2 separate regions of the Homo sapiens genome follow, and region 1 is linked to region 2. The links are contacts of gene promoters, found by promoter capture Hi-C in blood cells and fetal thymus (Javierre and others, 2016). All regions are on one chromosome and are shown on one strand. The core of a region is centred on a gene start or on the middle of the fragment in contact, and the rest is flanking DNA. Distances in the headings are between cores, read along the strand shown.

Evidence for each region. The method cuts DNA at HindIII sites, captures the fragments that hold promoters and counts their contacts. A CHiCAGO score of 5 or more calls a contact.
Region 1: a fragment that was not itself captured here is called in contact with the fragment with the promoter of BNIP3L in region 2 in 1 of 17 cell types (neutrophils); the score reaches 5.0 in neutrophils.

The regions. Positions count from the first base shown.
Region 1 is chr8:20,196,623-20,203,885 of GRCh38, reverse strand. It overlaps ATP6V1B2 (ATPase H+ transporting V1 subunit B2), which reads right to left and starts at 6,505. Exons shown (of 14, transcript NM_001693.4): 1 at 6,344-6,505. The coding sequence starts at 6,479. RefSeq lists a silencer at 6,452-6,731. The HindIII fragment of the contact is 3,998 bases long and covers 1-3,449 here.
Region 2 is chr8:26,377,949-26,384,461 of GRCh38, reverse strand. It overlaps BNIP3L (BCL2 interacting protein 3 like), which reads right to left and starts at 1,408. Exons shown (of 6, transcript NM_004331.3): 1 at 1,232-1,408. The coding sequence starts at 1,331. It also overlaps the pseudogene SDAD1P1. RefSeq lists a silencer at 659-1,248 and enhancers at 1,459-1,758, 1,732-2,931. The HindIII fragment of the contact is 3,600 bases long and covers 1-2,229 here.

The sequences.
Region 1 (7,263 bases), core at 201-2,700, 6.2 Mb after region 2:
CAATGGAAAGAAAGGCCAGGGGGTCAAACAAGATAAGAAAAGGATCCTTTTAAAAAAAGTCAAACGTTACTGCCAGGTTAGAGACTGTTGTTTTCCACTGCAAAGTGCGCCCTAGGAATAAACAGCTAATTCTACCCCAGCAGGTCCTACCCAAAGCCCTCACCTATCACACCTGCATGGCAAGTGAAATGGGGATCAGGTATAAGAACACTCAGGGGAGAGTAATTCTACCAGACACCTACAAAATTCACTAAATTTCATAAGCAGAACAACTGAAAAAAAATACATGAACTAAAGTTTTGAAGAAAATTTACTATAAGGCCTAAAATAATTAACATGAAGCTGTCTAGCAACTGGGAATTTTTCACTTGCTTGATTTCTTTTGAGGTCTTATAATGAGCTTGCACAGAGATTCCTGGCACAGATGTGGACTCCCAAGCATGAGGAAACCATTTACTAACCAGTCTGTCCACTCAAGTGGCTTTGGAATTTAAAATTACAATTCCTTCAGCCTCAGGCGGGGAAGCCAGAGCCCTGGTAAAAATGCTGGGACAGAGCAGACAGCACTGTCAGGGCTTCCATCTTTCCTGCTAACAGGACGTTTAAATCCAGACATCACATATTTGCTTGAATACATCAGTAATTGTACTGCAACTGTCTCAATAGAGGCCCCCCAACTGAACTGTATTTTTTTTTCCCCACTTTAGATAAAAAGCAAGCTACTTGGATGGATGGTCATGTGAAAGGATTAATCATTCCCCTAGATTACTAGAAAGACCCCATTTGCCACATTTTCTGCCACTTTTATGAAAACCATCCCTACTGTTTTAAAATGATTGAATACTCTTAAAAAACATAATTCCAACCCTTTAAAAGATTTCTTCATTGTTCTCATTTTAAAGACTCCCAGCATTTTTTTTACAATGGCTTTCTAAAATTGCCATGTGGAAATGGAAAGTGAGCTACATTAGAAATATGTTTTCTTGAAACCAGTTTTCAGAAATGCAGAAACGTAGACCTTTCCAAAACCTTTACCAAACAGCTGGGGTGAGGGAGGGGATATGGTATTGAGATTTATGATTAACTGTTTTGAATAAAATGCAACATCAGTAAAATACACCAGGTTCTTAAAATTCTCTTTATTTTTTCAACAAGATTGTATCTCCTTTATAGGTCTGATTTCTACAACAATACTGCTTTAGAATCTCATGTTTAAAATTCAAGCTCATTCCAAACTATGAAATTTTGCCAGTCACGAGCAAAAGTATGACCAAGAAAAAGAAACACTAGTCATAGCTTTTCCTGGAAACAGTGACTCAAATTGACATCTACTACAGAAGACAAGATTCTACTTCATCAAAAGTCTCTAAATTTGGAACAACGTATCCAGCCTTTTAAAAAGTTAGTAAGTAACCTTGCAAGTTAATTGATAACACTATCATACATTTAATAAGTACTTTTCAGGAATTCTCATTTAATCTCCATAACAGACAGAGTTAGCTATCATTATTCTAAGTTTTAGAAGAGAAAAATTATTCTCAGAGAAATTATTGTGTCTTGCCCAAGGACACAAGCAACCAGCCCAAGGATCTGAATGTGTACACTCTAGCTCCAAAGCCACTTATTCTTTGACTCTACTACAGCCCAAATTCTAAAACTGAACTGGTTCATTTTTTGTGGTATGGTATCTTGTAAGAATTATGAAGCGATACCACCCAAAACAATTTCACAAGCCTGCAATTTTAGGTATGCAAAACAGGTTTTTACTTTTTAACGCACCAGGCAATAAACTTCATCCCCAATGTGGCAGTACTGACAGGTGAGGCCTCTAAGAGGGGAATGGGTCATGAGGGCTCTGCTCTTATGAATGGATGAATCCATTCATGGGTTAATGAATTATCATGTGAAGGTAACTGGTGGCTTTACAAAAGGAAGAGAGACCTGAGCTAGTGCCCCTGCATTCTCAGCCCCCTCACCATGTGATGCCCTGAACCACCCTGGGACTCTTTCAAGTCCCACCAGAAAGAAGGCTCTCACCAGATGCGGCCCCTCCACTTTGGCCTTCCCAGACTCCAGAACTTTAAGAAATAAATTCCCTTTCTTTATAAATTACCCAGTTTCAGGTTTTCTGTTAAAAGGAGCAGAAAATGGCTAAGACAGTAGGCAAGGCTGATGCACCCTAAGGAAACTAAGGCCCTGATAAGTTTGTTTTTAAATGGGGGAGCCAGGCTTCTAACTGTTTTGTTTTTCTTTAATCTTAGGATTGGTACTCTATGACCCTTATAATATTTCTGGCCTTAGTCTTCAGTACAATTAAAAAGTATGGAGATCATACAGCTTCTAGCACTTGGACTACAAGTGGGGACAAAAAGACAATTTGTATAAAACTACAGCTCTTCTCCATGGTACTAAAACTATCTGCAAAGAAAACCAAGCAGAATGATAACAAACACTACCTTTTATCTCTAGATTTATCCAGCCTTCCTCACCATTACCATTAACAGCCCAAAACAGAGATACCAGTTTAAACTATGGCTGTCAAAGACATTAAGTTGCCCTTCAAAACAGGAAAAAACCCATTTGTAAATTACCTAAATATTTCTATTTACCTACATATTGACCACTCCTCTCCAAATGAAAAAGAATTTGAGCCCGTAGGTGTGTGAATGGGGGATAATCAGAACTTCTGACAACACAGAAGATATATGCTTATATTACCTTCTTAACATATTTTACAACCAAAATGTCTTGGCTTTGATTCTGAACTATCATATGAGCCAGACAAGTATTTATGAAGTAACATCTAAAACCCAAAATCTACACGGGTTTTAAGGAGCACATATTTTATCAGATGACATCCTCTTCCTCCTGCAGGATAGGATATTGCTCAACACTAGTAACACCATTTAATGATTACGAAATACTCAGAAAAAGTTGACAGCCATTGCATAATAAGTGTCCTAGTCTTTTAGCCTCTGCCTTATTAGCAAAACAAAAACCCAGAGCAATCATCTTCCCTTGTACAAGAAGAGTAGAGATCTGCATGATGAGCAGTGAGCACCTGAAGAAGAGGTTCTAGGAAAAAAGCAAGGAGAAGATTCCTATTTTGACTTTTTGCAGGGCTGGCTCTGCTTTATGATATAAGAAACTTAAGGCCAGTTGATCTAGGGTCTCAAGAAAAATGGAGATGACCAAATTCAAAATACATAGCACCCGAAAGCTCTATGTATGTTGTTGAATCTTTTCTTTTAAGAGAAAATCAAGTTTTCATTCCTTGTGACTTCAGAAATTCAACTAAAATGCTCAAGATAATTTCCTAATTTCAAGCCTGAATATGTTTTCCATTTCTTTTAAAAGTCCTATAATCTTGAAGCTATTTTTTAAAAGGATCTAATTTGTACAGTGGAACTGTCAACATTACTCCATTTCTTCATTCAAAAAACAAAGCTTTTTGAGTTTAAATGCAAGTTACACAATTACAAGGCACATTCTATGTGTCAGGCACTGTGCTAGGCAGTGGGGACACAAAAAGGATCTCTGACTTCTAAAGGTTCAGTGTGAAGCTTTAGGCTGGGCACAGCAGCTCACACCTGTAATCCCAGCACTTTGAGAGGCCATGGCGGGCGGATCTCTTGAGCTCAGGAGTTGTAGACCAGCCTGGGCAACATGGGGAAATCCCATCTCTACCAAAAATAAAAAATAAAAATTAAAAAAAATTAGCTGGACGTAGTGGTGTCCGTCTGTAGTCCCAGATACTTGAGAGGCTGAGGTGGGAGGATCGCTTGAGCCTGAGATGTGGAGGTTGCAGTGACCTGAGCTCACACCACTGCACTCCAGCCTAGGCAACAGAGTGAGACCCTGTCTCAACACACACACACACACACACACACAATAACTATAATTACATGTCCCCTTAAATGATAACATCAATCAATTCACAAAAAATTACAATCAATTTACAAAAATTAAGAGGTTGGCTGGGCGTGGTGGCTCATGCCTGTTATCCCAGCACTTTGGGAGGCCTAGGTAGGCGGATTGCCTGAGCTCAGGAGTTCGCCACCAGCCTGGGAAACACGGTGAAATCCCGTCTCTACTAAAATACAAAAAATTAGCCGGGCATGGCGGCGTGCGCCCGTAGTCCCAGCTACTCGAAAGGCTGACGCAGGAGAATTGCTCGAATCTGGAAGGCGGAGGTTGCAGCGAGCCTAGATCGCGCCACTCTGCACTCCAGCCTGGGTGACAGAGCGAGACTCCATCTCAAAAAAAAAAAAAAAAAAAAAACCCACAAAAATTAAGAGGTTAATCAATATTTACTCAGAAGCAATTAAAACTTTTGAGTAGAATAAAAAATATGGCAAAATAAGAAGATATTCAAATGCTGTTAGTTGTTAGCCTAAGTATGATATCATTTATGCTTTTTAGAATAACACGGATATATAAGTGAAACTCAACTCGACCGGGCATTTCAACTCCCTGCTCTGATTCCACCCATGTTCACAATCTATCCACTGAATTATTCGAGCAAGGAGTTTAAATGCAAGTTACACAATTACAAGACACATTCTATGTGTCAGGCACTGTGCTAGGCAGTGGGGACATAAAAAGGATCCCTGACATCTAACAGTTGAGTGTGAAGCCCTATGCTACAACAGTTTTGTCAAGAATAACGTCTGGAAAAATCCCTCAGCAACTGGGTAAGTACGTACAAACCATGGAGAAATCATATTCATCTCTCTTAAAGGTTTACAATCTTAATCATGGAGTACTCTTTAAACAACGTTATTTCAGTTGATATTCTCTGAATTGACACTGAATGATTAATTATATGGAAACTGACTACTGCACCTTTATAACCTTTTTTGAGAGGCACCACTAATGTCTATCTGTTCTACCCAAAGAAAGGCAATGCATACAAACGCAATTAATAAAAGAGAATTTGTAATTCGTAGGTATAAATTTATTGCCAAGGTTTGCATAAGAATGCAACATCTGCCGATTTCCTGAAGTAGCTACTTCAGCTCAGATAAGTCCCAACATACATTTTCTAATTCGAACAATTCCCAGTTACTGTAAAAGGCACATCTCAGCAATCCACCGAATCAAATGTTTTCCTTTTTCTTCACACTGCAGTGCTATCACATGACCCAGTGACAGATCAGGATGTGGATTAGTCAGGCTTCAGATCGCCCAGACTAACACCCTTCATCTGAAATCCTTTTTAATCAGTCGGCCACCTAGAGACAGACACTCTGGCAATTAACCAGTGAAAATGCAGTCTCACCACCTGGGGAAACATCATGTGCTTTTCCCAGTTTTTTAAAAAGTCTATTTCGAGGGCTCATTGCCAGTTCCGAAGAAAGCTGTGAAGAAGTTGGATGCTACACAACTGCATTCTCTAGTAATCAAGAACCATTTCTTTTGGAATTGCTGAGCTATCCACTTAAACCTAGTTCATTAAGGCCTTTTTATTTAAAAAATCACAACATTTAAACAAGCCTATGCACACACACCACCTATGGGCAAAGCCACCTGGCTTCCCCAAAGAACCCTGCACTCAACCAAGTTTGGTTAACTGGTCAGTAAATGAAGAGGCAACGGTAGAAAAAGGCCCAGCGAGAATTTAAGAACCTGGATTTTTAGTCCCTGCTCTGCCAATAATTAAGTGTCTGAAGCATGGCAAATCCTACCCCTTCCAGAACCTTAGGCTTCTCACCTGTAAAATGATAGGGTTGGACTGGATGACCTGCAAGGTACTTTTCAGCTCTAGCGTTCTCTGATATCTAGGTGTCCTTCTGCGGAGCAGCCCCTCCACCAAACACCAAGCCACATCTCCCTCTGGCTACTGGCCTGACCTCCATCCACGAAAGGCCTGACCACGTCAGCGAAGGCTCTACCGTCTGCCCTCCGCAGGAGTTGAAGACCCCATTGAGGTCCTCACCAGGGGGAGGGGAGAAGGGGCGTTCCCTCGACCCCTAGATATCCAAATGAAGTCAGGGGAAGATTAAGATCGGAGTGGCAAGAAGTGGCCCTCGGGGACGGGAAGCAAGTGCCTAAGAAGGCTCCAGCCTAGGGAAGCTGGGGAGGGGAGGGGGTAGGGCAACAGCCAGGAGCCCACCAACCCCAGGAAAAAGTTCCCGCTGGTGCTCTTGCCCTCAGCCCATCTCCTGGAAATATTAGGTACAGGCAAATCTCCTTCTAAAGAGACAAGTGGGTCAGGGTCGGAGGGGAGACGCGGGAGGGAAAAACAAATCCTACCCCCTACCCGCTGGCTAAGCAGGTGACTGGGAGCAAAGGGCTAGGCTAGGGAGCAAAGACCGGAGACGTATTACTCTCTGATACTCACTGAGGCGAGGCTGGGAGAGGTAGTTCCGACTGACTGCCAGCGCCTGCTCCCGAGCTCCCACCGCCGGCCCACCGGTGGGCACGGGTAGCTCGGGTGCGGCCCCGTTGACAATCCCCCGCATCGCCCGCAGCGCCATCTTGTCTCCTCTGTCCCGACTGGCCCAGCAGCGACGCCGCGCACGCGCAGATATACCAAGGCGGCCCGCGGCCCGAGGCTCCGCCTATGCGCGCTGCGGCGCCCCGGCCTCGCCCCGCCCCCTTCGCCGCCGGCCGCCCCCAGCCTCGTGACTTCGCGCCGCTGGGGCCAGACCTGCTTGCGAGCAAGAGGAGCTGACCAGCGTGCTGGGAGGCGCGCGCGGGCGCAGAGGGAAGGGAAGCGAAAGAGGGGAGATGGAAGGAGAGAGGAAAGCCAGCCGAAAGAGAGGCGCACAAGCGGAGTGAGGGGAGGAAGGCAAACGCGTGCAGGCCAACGTCAGCTGATATCCATTTCGAATGGGCTTTCGTGACGCTGAATGGAGAGAACTCAAGCTGTGAAAACCGCTTTGAAAAACAGAAGCAATGGAAAACATGTTTCAGTGATTATTAACACATGTGGCATCATTTAGTTCACTTTACTCCCTACCCAATTCGTTCACGCATGTATCCATTCGACAAACATATATTGGCTTGTTATAGGATGTGCGTAGCGGTGTGAAAAATAGGGGCAGATTTGGAAGCTGTGTAAGGGGTGGGACTAGTGTAGGATGACAGCCCAGGCTGGAGGCCGGAGCAATGGAATGGATTCTTCTTCTTCTTCTTCTTCTTCTTTTGAGAGGGAGTCTCATTCTGTCGCCCAGACTGGAGTGCAGTGGCGTAATCACGGCTTACTGCAACTTCCGCCTCCCGGGTTCAAGCGATTCTCCTGCTTCAGCCTCCTAAGTA
Region 2 (6,513 bases), core at 159-2,658:
ATAATATAACCATCTTACATTCTGGAATATATGACACTTAAAGGTTTTGGGAATTAACCCATCAAAACCTGGAGCAGCAGCATCCATCTTAAAATCTCCAAACTCCATCGCTACCTGGTGAGGGCTGAAACTCTCTTCCCTAAAATAATCTTCAGGCCACACTGGAAGCACCTCCCTCTTACGAAAGATACTGCATGACCTTTAAGCATCCAAGTGGTTTTGAAAAGACTTCATCTGGCCATATGCTCACTGCTCCCATTACCTCTTTCCCAAGAGTTGAATTAAAGAAAGGTTAGGCAAGAACCCTTCCAAGAAGGCTCCCGGTTCTCACGACTAGGAACAATCTGAGGACAAGATGTCTGGGCAGCGGAATGTTATGAAAAGACCCTGGCCTGGGTTGTCTATCAGCCTCGTCCGTTAACTTTCAACTGCCCGAGTGCGTTTTTAATTCCGTTTCTTTAAATGCATGGCCCCAGACTCCCTGACGTGTGCAATCTTGGGTGGTTCAGGAGGCTGCTCTCAGCTTTACTGGGCGCACAACCCATCGCTTTAAAAAAAAAAAAATCACTTGGGCAACTTCGAGAAATCTAATAAAAAAATAAAAAAGGAAAAAGGAGAAGCAAGGCACAGCCTCTCACCCCACACGTGACTGAAGCCAACCCTAGACGAGCAAATGAATTTTCCTGACAAACGTGTGGCAACAAAGGAATGCTCGCTGGGGGGCTCCCGCGCCCGCCAGACGCTGCCCGCCCGCGAGCCCCGCACACCTGATCCCCGACACGTCCCGCGGCAGCCGCCCGCCCCGCCCCGCTCCCGCGCGTCCATCCCCCGGCGTCCCCGCCGCACGTCCCCATCCCGGCCCACGTCCCCTCCGCGGCCCGCTCCGCCCACCCGGCCTCCCCGCCCCCCAGGCCCGCCCCCGCCCCGCCCCGCCCGGCTCCGCTGCTGGGGACCACCCCCCGCACCAGGGGGATCCGCGCTACCCGCGCCGCTCCCGGACCGCGAGCCCAAACGGCCCCGGGCCCAAGACCCCAGGAGGCAACAGAGAGGCCCGGAGCAAGGCAGGCGCCCCTCCTCTTGACAGGGGACGGGAGCTGTCAGTCACCTGGACATCCCATGCCTGAGCCAATGAGCTGCCTTCTCCTCCCGCCTCCCGCGCCGCGCCGGTGGCGGCGGCCGGGGCTGCTCCTCCTCCCCCATCCCCTTCACAGAGCCTCGGCCCCGCACTCACTGTTGAGGCCGGCCGGCGGGGGCAGAGACTGCTCATTTTCCTCGCAGTTGTTGTTGTTGTTGTGCAGGGGCGGCGGCGGCTCGACTAGGTGGGACGACATTGTCGGACAGCTGGCAGGACTGCGGCAGCAGCAGGACCGTCTCCGGCACTCAGGCAGCAACACAACAAGCCGAGTCCGCCGCCCCCTTTTCTGCGCCTGCGCCGTCCCTCCCCTGCCCCTGACGTCAGGGCCCGCCCAGGCCACGTGATGACAACACAACAAGCGACCGGACGGGGCAGGGGCGCTCCCCTGCGGGCCCCGGACGTGGAGACGCTCGAGTCAGGCTGACGCGCGCGCCGGGAACGAACTCTTGCGTGTGACTTGGGATGACCGGATGGGATGAGTGATGCCAGTGGCAGTGGGAGAGAGGATGAGGAGAAACGGAATGAGGAAGTGCGCTCCTGTGTTCGCGCCCGTGCCTCCTCTCACACAGGCTCCACAGTGCTTCACCCAGCCCTGCGCACGCATCTGTTTTCTACCTCTTAGGACTCACTTCTGCAATAGGTGTCTTGGGGACACAAAGGAATCCCCAAACCCAGGTGCCTCCACGTGTAAACTCCAAATAAAGCTGCTGAAACATCAACACTCCATACGGGAAACAAGGGAAGGCCGCCCCCAAATTTAATTGTTACAGAATTTTTAAAATGTCGATTACAAACACACCATCATTCTGAAAAAAAGAGAAAGAAGAAAGGGGAAGAAAGAAAAAAGAAAAATTCAGGAAAACAGAGAGAAGAAAGTACTCACCCAAATCCCATCGACTAATCGATTTCTGGGACATGACGTGGGAAGCCGTTTATCCTGTACGTGGATGACATTAAACTATGTTCCTGAGCACACCTCCTACTTCACATCTCCATGTCTTCGTCCAGTCTCCTTGGTCTGATTTATGAGTGACATATGTTTCTCGCAGTCTCTAACTTGTCTTTTAATTTGTTTTTTTCACTCTGTAGAAGCTTAAGGTTTTCATGTAATCAGATTTATCATTCTTACATGGCTTGGGGAGACAGTCACACCAAGATTACTAATCTATAATTCCCTTATAACTTTTTCTAATTTTCTTATAGGCTTAACTTTACATTTAGAGCTCTAATCCATCTGAAATTTATTTTCCATATGCTGTAAATTATTTAACTTCAATTCTTCCCAATTTTGTAGCCCATTGACCTAATAATATTAATTTTAAGCCATCCTTTCTACACTGATTTGAAATTGCACCTTTGTCACTCTCTGAATGACCACAAAAATGTGAGTCTGTTTCAGGGCTATCTGCAATACCTCTGTTAGATAACTATTAAAGTTTCTCTTCCTTTGTCTTTTTCAGATGTTAATGGCTAGTTACTCTTCAGATGAACTTAAAAATGGACTTGTCCAAGATTGACCTTGTGTTGGTAATTATTGAAGCTATGTAATACATTAAAGTATTCCTCTAATTTTTTAATATATTTGAAAAAGTCCATGCTAAAAGGTTTTTTTTAAGGATTGATTTGTCAAATCCCTTTGCAAATTCTTTTAAGATTTTGGTCAGAAATGAACTCTATTAATAGATTGAGTGCTGTTTCCGGTCATACCCGGAAGCAGGAGTTCAAGCCGCAGCTGGTAGGGATTGGCGGCTGCTGGCCATCTGAGTTTTATTAAAACTGCTCGCCGCGAAGCCAGTCTTCAGCCAGAATGTCCAGCAGAAACAACAACAAGCTGCCCAGCAACCTGACTGCAGTTACAGAATCTGATGAAGCGAGACCCACCACCCTCCATCTAGGAGTTTCTACAGCAGTATAATCACTACACATCCAATGTGGAGATTTTCAAATTGCAACCATATAAACCCGGTAAAGAACTAGCAGAGCTGGTGGTGTTTATGGCACAGAACGTCCTAAATATGTGCATCTGAATAATAGGAGAGAAAGAGAGAAACTTCAGAAGAGCCTTTGCTTTGTTATAGATTAGTTACTGCTACCCAGGGTATCTAAGTAATTTTCCTCAAGTGGTGAAAGATCTTCTGTCCTGTAATCATACTGTATTGGATCCAGATCTTCGAATGACATTTTGCAAAGCTTTGATCTTGCTGAGAAATAAGAATCTCATCAATCCATCAAGCCTGCTAGAACTCTTCTTTGAACTTCTCTGTTGCCATGATAAGCTTCTGCAAAAGACTTCATACACATATATCGTGACTGATATCAAGAATATAAATGCAAAACACAAGAATAAAGTGGATGTAGTATTGTAAAATTTCATGTATACCATGTTGAGAGATAGCAATGCAACTGCAGCCAAGATGTCTTTAGATGTTATGATTGAACTCTACAGAAGGAACATCTGGAATGATACCAAAACTGTCAATGTTATCACAACTGCATGTTTCTCTTAGGTCACCAAGATATTAGTTGCTGCTTTGACATTCTTTCTTGGAAAAGATGAAGATGAAAAACAGGCCAGTGACTCCGAATCTGAGGATGACGGACCAACAGCAAGAGACCTGCTAGCACAGTATGCTACAGGGAACAAAGTTCCCAAAACAAGAAAAAGTTGGAAAAGGCAATGAAAGTGCTCAAGAAACAAAAGAAGAAGAAAAAACCAGAGGTGTTTAACTTTTTAGCCGTTCACTTGATTCATGATCCCCAAGATTTTGCAGAAAAACTACTAAAGCAGCTTGAGTGCTGTAAGGAGAGGTTGGAAGTGAAGATGATGCTCATGAACCTCATCTCAGATTGGTGGGAATTCATAAGCTCTTCCTCTTCAATTTCTATCACTTTTTGCGAAGGTTTCTGCAGCCCCACCAAAGAGAAGTAACAAAGAACCTTCTGTTTGCTGCACAAGCATCTCATCACCTAGTACACCCAGCGATTATTCAATCATTGCTTATGACTGTGGCCAACAATTTTGTTAACGACAAGAACTCTGGAGAAGCCATGACAATAGGAATCAATGCTGTAAAAGAGACAACAGCTCAGTGTCCTCTGGCCATGACTGAAAAGCTTCTCCAAGACCTGGCTCAGTATAAAACACACAAGGATAATAATGTAATGATGTCTGCTAGAACTTTGATTCGGCTCTTCCGAACACTGAATCCTCAGATGCTGCAGAAGAAATTCTGGGGTAAGCCTACAGAAGCCTCCATAGAAGCAAGAGTACAAGAATATGGAGAATTAGATGCTAAAGGTTACATTCCAGGAGCAGAAGTTCTGGAAGTTGAGAAAGAGGAGAGTGCTGAAAATGATGAAGATGGATGGGAAAGTACCAGTCTCAGTGAGGAGGAGGATGCCGATGGCGAATGGGTTGATGTGCAACACTCTTCCAATGAAGAACAGCAAGAAATTTCCAAGAAGCTGAACACCATGCCCATGGAGGAGCAGAAAGCCAAAACTGCAGCCGTCAGCACCAGTCGAGTTTTAAGTTAGGAAGACTTCCAGAAAATCCGCATGGCGCAAATGAGAAAAGAACTTGACGCTGTCCCCGGGAAATCCCAGAAGAGGAAATATATTGAAATCGACAGTGATGAAGAGCCGAGGGGTGAATTACTTTCTCTTCCGGACATTGAACGCCTTCATAAAAAGCCAAAATCTGACAAAGAGACAAGACTAGCAACTGCAATGGCTGGAAAGACAGACCGAAAAGAATTTGTGAGGAAGAAAACCAAAGTGAATCCATTTTCCAGTTCAAAAAGTAAAGAGAAGAAAAAACAGAAGAACTTTATGATGATGTGGTATAGCCAGAATGTCTGGTCAGAAAATAAGCGTTCCTTCTGAGAAAAACAGTTGGCGCTGCGAGATGCCTTTTGAAAAGAGAAAAAGAATGAAGTAACTTCCCAGAAAGTTTTCCATTCCAAGAAGAATGCTAAGTTTGTGTCATTACTCTGAAAATTGGTAAATCAAGCATGTTTGTTTACATTAAAAAGTCCAGAAGCACTATATTATGAAAACTGCTGAAAATGTGGCAGCAATTTGGTGTTTTTATTTTGGGGACAGCTAATGATGGGAAATGTTAATGTAAATAGTGGTGGTAGTGTAATATCATTTATCATTCATGCAAAAAAAAGTATTGAGTGCCTATTAATTGTCACTGTAGATACAAAATGACTGAGTTGTAACTACCCCTTCACTCAAGGCATTGACAGCTTAGTTGTGGGGGTGGACACAGACGTGTATTTACAGTGCAGTGTAAATAGTTCTCTAGTAGAGGTAGGTCCACATTTCTATGCAGACACTGAGGCCTTATGGACTAACTCTGTGGGGATGGGGGTTATATATTCCTGTAAAACAAAGCAAAACAGGACAATTGTAACAAGAGTAAGAGGTTCTTTCTTGCATATAATAGGCTTACCTGCTGAAAACAGGCCCCTGCTGTACAGATTTTGGGTACATAATTTAGCTCTTTTAGTCAATCCAAAAGATTTAAATGACCCCCGCTTTTTTTTTTTAATGCCATGTAAAGGCTTTTTGGTTAAGACCTCACTTTTAAAATTGCCTTAAGTGTAAATAGTACCTTTGGAATGTATTTAGTTCATCATTTGAGATGCCTTCATACTGGTTTCCTCAACCTTCCTTCACCCTGTATTATTTTCAGCCCACCGTTTGTCTCAATAAAAGGTTTCTAATGCCAAATGATAAAAAAGAAATTGAGGGGATTATTGACATATTTATAGAATTGTTTTCCCAGTCAGGACTACGAGATCCCACTTTGTTCTATTTTCCTTTTAGGTGCTCCTTTCAAAAGGTTTTAAACTTTCAAAAAAAAGTTTTTTATTAATCATGTGCTATTTTATTTTTATTTTTTTGAGACAAGGTCTCATGCTATCACCCAGGCTGGAGTGCAGTGGTACAATCACAGCTCACTGCAGCCTCAGCCTCCCGGGCTCAAGTGATCATCCCACCTCAGCTTTCCCAGTAGGTGGAACTACAGGTGCCTGCAATCATGTCCAGCTATTTTTTTGTGTTTTTTGTAGAGACAGAGTTTTCCTGTGTTGCTCAGGCAAGTCCTGAACTCCTGGTCTTATGGGATCCCCCTGCTTCAGCCTCCCAAACTGCTGGGATTACAGGCATGAGCCACTTTGCCCAGCTTACTATACTCATTTTATTGAAAATAATTAGAAAGTTTCCTTTTCTCTGGTCTTACATAGATGACATTGAAATTACTTTCTTTAAGGAGATGTTATAATTCCCTATGGAAACATTGGGGCCTGATGCTTTTAGGAAGGTCATCTCTGTTTCTATAGGATGTTACTTTTATTTCTTATTTTATG